Regions from separate parts of the Homo sapiens genome. Here region 2 is linked to region 1. The links are contacts of gene promoters, found by promoter capture Hi-C in human tissues and cell types (Jung and others, 2019). All regions are on one chromosome and are shown on one strand. Each heading gives the region's core, a stretch centred on a gene start or on the middle of the fragment in contact. The rest is flanking DNA. Distances are from core to core; before and after follow the strand shown.

The links. Contacts are between HindIII fragments. The study calls those that stand out against the background at their distance.
Region 2: a fragment that was not itself captured here is called in contact with the fragment with the promoter of PSMG3 in region 1 in 2 of the 25 tissues and cell types used here (dorsolateral prefrontal cortex and lymphoblastoid cells).

Annotation. Positions count from the first base shown.
Region 1 is chr7:1,568,074-1,571,448 of GRCh38, reverse strand. PSMG3 (proteasome assembly chaperone 3) reads left to right here and starts at 1,417. Exons shown (of 2, transcript NM_032302.4): 1 at 1,417-2,325. The coding sequence starts at 2,110. It overlaps PSMG3-AS1 (PSMG3 antisense RNA 1), which reads right to left and starts at 1,376. Exons shown (of 5, transcript NR_027329.1): 1 at 1,170-1,376. RefSeq lists enhancers at 366-415, 426-495, 1,119-1,687 and silencers at 796-875, 1,316-1,745. The HindIII fragment of the contact is 18,965 bases long and covers 461-3,375 here.
Region 2 is chr7:2,152,254-2,155,563 of GRCh38, reverse strand. All of the region lies in intron 10 of MAD1L1 (mitotic arrest deficient 1 like 1), which reads left to right. Among named protein-coding and RNA genes, the nearest start is that of SNORA114, 65 kb to the right of the region's middle. The HindIII fragment of the contact is 4,469 bases long and covers 1-3,310 here.

The sequences.
Region 1 (3,375 bases), core at 168-2,667:
GTTTCTACTGGTTACTTGGTGTACGCCCTATGTAAATAAAGAGGATGAAATAAAGTTACAAAATCATTTACTCAGTGTACACCCTATGGAGAGGGTATTTCCTGTCATAGCTGAAGTGTTCCCTGCCTCCAGACCCTGTTTTCCTGCCTCAATTCCTTTACTTTTCTAATAAACTTGCTTTCACTTTGTGGACTCGCCCTCAATTCTCTCTTGGGGTCTGGATCGGGACCCCTTTCTGGTAATATAGACAGAAAATACGGCCTTGACATGGTTGTCAGGAAACGACAGTAAGGCCTCCGAGGGTGGGGTTCTGAAGGGATGTTAAACGCCCCACCCCGAGGAAGGCTCTGGAGGCTCCAATCACTTTCAGCCTCTGCTACCAAGATGTCCGACCCTACCAATAAAACTTCCAGCAGCGGGGCGCGGTGGCTCACGCCTGTAATCCCAGCACTTTGGGAGGCCGAGGAAGGCAGATCACCTGAGGTCAGGAGTTCAAGACCAGCCTGACCGACATGGTGAAACCCCATCTCTACTAAAAATTTAAAAAGTTAGCCGGGCCTGGTGGCGCACGCCTGTAATCCCAGCTACACAGGAGGCTGAGGCAGGAGAATTGCTTGAACCAGGGAGGCGGAGGCTGCAGTGAGCCGAGATCGCGCCACTGCACTCCAGCCTGGGTGACACAGCAAGACTCCGTCTCAAACAAAACAAAACAAAAAACCTTCCAGCTTGGAGAAACTGAGAGTGAGCAGTAGGGAGTGAGGGGGTCCCTGGGAGGAACCAGAACTCATCCCGCTTCAGGGTGGGGCTGGCCCCCTTCTTGGCCTTGGCCGGGGCTTCGTGTCACGGAGCGCCCGAGGGACGGTCGGAGCCCACCCCAGCCCGCCCGCCGCCTGAGCCTGGCCGAGCTCTCTGCACCTGCACACGTCTGTAAAACGCGGATGAAACGCTTCTACGGAACCGGGTGGCTGAGATGAAGTGAGTTATGGGTATAAAGCGCTTAGAGCGATGCCTGGCGGACACTCGGTGCCAAATAAGCGTTCGCTGTGGCGACGATGACGCCTCCAGCCCAAAGCCCGTGGTCGAGCAGGGCCGGGCTCCCAGCGCTAGGGGGTTCCTAGGCGCGGCGCTTCGGGGGTCCTGGACACAGACACGGGGGACAGAGCTCCTACCAGCGACGATCCCGAGGGTCTGCAGCAGAGGGGCTGAGGCCCGGGACGGGGGTGGTCGCAGCGCCCTTTCCTGAAAAAACGGGGTTCGGCTCTAAGGCGCCCCCAAGCCCTGCCGGCAGCGCGGAACCCGAGCCGCTCAGAAGCCCGGGAGCCCCAAGTCTCCGGGACCAGAAGCGCCGCGGCCCTGACTTCCGGAAGGTGGACGGAACCCGCGGACGGGGCGGGCCCGCGTGGCGCACGCAGAGCCACTTCCGGGCGCGGCGCCGGCTTGGTGAGCGCGGGTACCCGCGGGCTTCCCCGGGCGGCTGCGTCCCCAGTAGCCCGGCCGGCCTCGGCACCGCGTGTCGTGGGGGTCCCGGGCCGCGGCTGCAGGGCCGGGGCGGCGGCGAGGCCGAGGGGCGGGAAGCCACTGCCCGGCCTGGCAGTGTGAACGTGCAAGTCGATCCCCTAACCCAGAAAGCCCCAGGCGCGGTCTCTATGGGCGGCCCCGCTCCTGCTTCTGTTTTATTTTTTTACGGACAGGGTCTCGCTCTACCGCCCGGGTTGTAATGCAATGGTGTGATCACGGCTCACCGCAGCCTCGACCTCCCGGGCTGAAGCGATCTTCCCGCCTCAGCCTCCTGAGTAACTGGGACCACAGGCGCGCCCTGCTGGTTTTTTTTTTTTTTTTTTTTGGTAGAGATGGGGGTCTCGCTATGTTGGCCAGGCTGGTCTCGAATTCCTGGCCTCAACGATCGTCCTGTCTCGGCCTCCCAAAGTGCCGGGATGACAGGCATGAGCCACCGCGCCTGGCCCCTTCTTTTGAATGGGCCTCCTTGCGTTTCCGTTTCAATGCCCCGTGCTACTTTTTTGGGAGCCCCAAGGCTGTACTGTTTGATTGACTCCTTTTTTTCCCCTTTCTTTTTAACCTAAATTAAAGCTGCCACTGCAGAGCCCCGCCATGGAAGACACGCCGTTGGTGATATCGAAGCAGAAGACGGAGGTGGTGTGCGGGGTCCCCACCCAGGTGGTGTGTACGGCCTTCAGCAGTCACATCCTGGTGGTGGTGACCCAGTTTGGGAAGATGGGCACCCTGGTCTCCCTGGAGCCCAGCAGCGTGGCCAGTGACGTCAGCAAGCCTGTGCTCACCACAAAAGTCCTTCTGGGGCAGGATGAGGTAAAGTGGATTGGCCGGGAACTGTGGCTCACGCCTGTAACCCTAGCACTTTCAGAGGCCTAGGCGGGCAGATCGCTTGAGGCCAGGAGTTTGAAACCAGCCTGGGCAACACAACAACACACACACAAGTCACTACAAAAAAACAAGTGCCTACACAAAATATATATATAGAGAGAGGCTGGGTGCAGTGGCTCACACCTGTAATCCCAGCACTTTGGGAGGCTGAGGCGGGCAGATCACTTAAGGTCAGAAGTTCCAGACCAGCCTGGCCAACATGGGGAAACCCCATTTCTACGAAAAATATAAAAATTAGCTGGGTGTGGTGGCACATGCCTGTAATCTCAGCTACTCAGGAGGCTGAGGCAGAAGAATCGCTTGAACCCGAGAGGCGGAGGTTGCAGTGAGCTAAGATCGTGCCACAGCACTCCAGCCTGGGTAACAGATAGAGACTTGGTCTTAAAAAAAAAAGGAAAAGAAAAGGAAACAAAAAATTAGCTGGGCCTAGTGGTGTGTGCCTGTGCTCCCAGCTACTTGGGAGGCTGAGGTGGGAGGATGGCTTGAGCCCTGGAGGTTGAGGCTGCAGTGAGCCATGATTGTGCCACTGCGCTCCAGCCTGGGTGAGAGAGCAAGACTCTGTCTTTAATAATAATAATAATAATAATAATAATAAAGTGGTCAGGAAGGGACCCCCAGGGAGGAGCATAAACCTCTCCAGTGGCTGTGATTTGTCAGTAAGGACATGGGGCATCTGGCGGACAAATACCCCTACAGCGATAGCATTTTCCGGGCATTTGTGGGTCTCAAGGCGCCCTGCTTGCCCTCAGTGGATGCTTTGTCCAGCCCGCAGGCATTTTATCCAGCAGACAAGCAGAAGCAGCAGTTTTGTCATTCGAGCCGCCTCCCCTGCCATGGTACATTACGTGAGCAGGCGGCTGGCTGTGCTGTGCTCTGTGGAGATCACACGTGAGATTCGACAGCACTCGCTTCTGCAGGCTTCTCTTTCCTGGGTTCTTTTAGATGAGAGAGAGCCAGAAGAGGCGGGGCTGCGGA
Region 2 (3,310 bases), core at 734-3,233, 580 kb before region 1:
TGCTCTATGGCTCCACTCATGTGGCTGGAGTGGTCGCATTCTTAGAGACGGAAGGTAGTATGGAGGTGGCTGGGGCTGGGAGCAGAGGGGCTGTGGGAGTTCCTCTTTAATGCGACAGGGTTTCAGTTTTGCAAAATTAAGAGTTCTGGGGATAGGTGTGGTGCTGGTTGCCCAATAACATGAATATGCTCAACACGACAGAACTGGGGACTTAAAAATGGTTAAGATGGTATATTTTATGTTAAGTGTATTTTACCACAATTAAAAACATCCCAACACGGTGGCAGGATGCCACCGTGGCCAGGTGTGGTGCTTGTCTTGGGTTTCCTCAGGATGTCCTCTTGGAAGAGCGTGGCAGGTCAGCAGGTCAGGCCTGAGGACCCCCCTTTGCTCGCTCTCTTAGCCTCGTCCTTTTGGAGGGTCCAGTCTTCCTCAGGTAGCAAGCCTTCTTGCCAGGCCACAGAAGCCCCAAGCCGGAGGAGCGGCTCTCCGGCTCCCGTGCTGCTTCTCCGTGCAAGCCTCTCTGAGAGCTCACAGTCCACCCCTGTGGACTCCTCCGCGTGCCCAGAGCCTCCTGGGCTCCTCCTCCCCACCCCGCTTGGTTCAAGGGTATGTCCTTTACTCCAGATGGTGGCCTCCGTCCTTCTCCACAGGCTGCTGTTAATACGAGAAGAGGGCGCCGGAATGCTTCCTGTAGAGTTCAGGAGGTGACCTCCTGACCCGTTTGATCGGATTCCACCTTGTTCTTGATGGGACCTCCTTTGTGGCCTCAGAAATGTCCACATGTTGGCAAAACCATTTCATCTTTTCTTTTTCTGATATGGAGTGCTCTGAAACCATTGCCTTAAACCCATTCTGTTTCCACTAGCTAAAGCTCATACACTTCATCCCCAGAGAGCCCATTTTCTTTTATTTATTTATTTACCATTTATTTATTTTTATACATAATATTTTACATATTTATGGAGTACCTGTGATATTTTCTTACGTGCACAGAATGTGGAATGGGCAAGTTTAGGGTATTTGGGGTAACCATCACTTTGAGTATTTATCATTTCCACGTATTGGGAAAAATTCTGGTTCTCTTCTAGCTACTTTGAATTATACAATACACTGTTAACTCTAGTCACCCTCCTCTTCTGTGGAACAACTGAATTTATACCTTTCATCTAACTGTATGTTCGTACCCATTAACTCAACTCTCTTCATCTGTGGTTCCGCTCACCCAGACCTTTCAATCCACTAGTTCCTGTCATTCTACTCTCTGCCTTTAGGAGGTGAATTTCCACAGCTCCCATGAGTGAAGACGTGCAGTTTCTTTCTGTTCCTGGTGGTTTCACCTGACACGGTCACCTCCCATTCCAGCCACGTTGTTACAAATGACAGGCTCTCATTCTTTCTTTTTTTTTGAGATGGAGTCTTGCTCTGTTGCCAGGCTGGAGTGCAGTGGCGTCATCTTGGCTCACTACAACCTCTGACTCCCTGGTTCAAGTGATTCTCCTGCCTCAGCCTCCTGAGTAGCTGGGATTACAGGCGTGTGCCACCACGCCTGGCTAATTTTTGTATTTTTAGTAGAGATGGAGTTTCACCATGTTGGCCGGGCTGGTCTCGAACTCCTGACCTCCTGATCCACCTGCCTCGGCCTCCCAAAGCGGTGGGATTACAGGCGTGAGCCACCGCGCTCGGCCCAGCTCTTGTTCTTTCTTACGGCCGGATAGCATTCCACTGTGTGTACATCCCCATTTTCTTTATCCATTCGTCTGTCGATAGACACAGGTTAATTCCGTATCTTTGCCATCTTTGCTGTGATAAACATGGGAATGCAGGTATCTTTTTGATACAGTGATTTCCTTTGAGTAAATACCCAGTGGTGGGATTGCTGGATCATGTGGTGGTGTTCTGTTTTCAGCTTTTTGAGAAATCTCCATACTGGGTTCCATAGCGGTGGTACTAATTTACATTCCTTCCAACAGCAGCTGAGAGTTCCCTTTCCTCTGCATCCTCACCAGCATCTGTCTGTGTGTTTTTTGGTCTGTTTATTAGCCATTTTAAGCTGAGGTAAGGTGGTATCTCATTGTGGTTTTGATTTGCAATTCCCCCGATGATTAGTGATGTTGACCATTTTTTCATATACCTGTTGGCCATTTGCATGTCATCCTTTGAGAAATGTCTCTTTGTGTCCTTTGCCTACTTTTTCGTGGGATTATTTATGTTTTTTTAATTGTTGTTATTTGAGTTTCTTTTGAGTTGTATTTTGGATGTTAGTCCCTTATTGGCCGAAGAGTTGACAGATATTTTCCTGCATTCAAGAGGCTGTCTCTTCACTCTGTTGATTGTTTTCTTGGATGGGCAGAAGCTTTTTACTTTGATGTAGTCCCATTTGTCTATTTTTGTTTTTGTTGCCTGTGCTTTTGAGGTCTTAGCTATAAAATCTTTGCCTAGACCAATGTCCTGAAGTGTTTTCCTTGTTTTCTTTAGTATTTTTTATATTTTTGGGTCTTAGGTTTCAGCCTGTAATCCATCTCCAGTTGATTTTTGTATATGGGGAACACATTTTCTTTTGATTGACACTGCCGAACAAAGGGTATACAAAATTTCACAACTTTTAACATGCTGGTTGATGATTGTACTTGAAGTGTTTTCTCCTCATGTCCCCGGCGACATCCAGACACCGCCTCCACGGTGCATGTCCTCTCCCGGCCTCCCAATGCCAGTGTGAAAATGGGCTTGGATTGCACACCCTGAAAACAGCCTCCAGCCTCCCTGTCCCTTCCACATCCATAAAGTTAACGGCATAGGGATTGTCAGGTAATAGCAGTGCACTGTACCTGTGCCGTAGGGTTTTGGAAGTGAGCCTTAGGAAGCCCAGCCGAGCAGGTAGGGAGTTGAGCCTGGAGGGGTCAGGGCTGGGGCTGAGACCCAGGTTTTCTCCCATGGGTCCATCTCCTTTTCCTTTAAGGATGTCCTGGCCTTCCCTCTGTCTCTGCAAGTAGAGTAGACTGGTCCCGTGTGACGTTCTTGAAGGCTGTCATCGAGCTCACTGTGCTTGTGCTTTTGAGTGGAAGCTGAACCCTGGTCATGAGCAAGAATGGCCAGACAGGGCTCGTGAGGCTTGGTTTAGCCAAAGTGGTGACTGCGGGTTTTTCAGCGCAAGAGGCTGCGAAGGGAGGGATTCCTTCTGGTGCCCCTGTGCCCTCCAGCGGCTTCTGCCCGTGGGAGGTGTTGGGCACGGCTGCCCCTGTGGTTGGAGGGCTCTGGAATAGCAAGCCCTGCAGCTTCAGTCCTCCCTATGATGGGGGCCTGGTCGCAT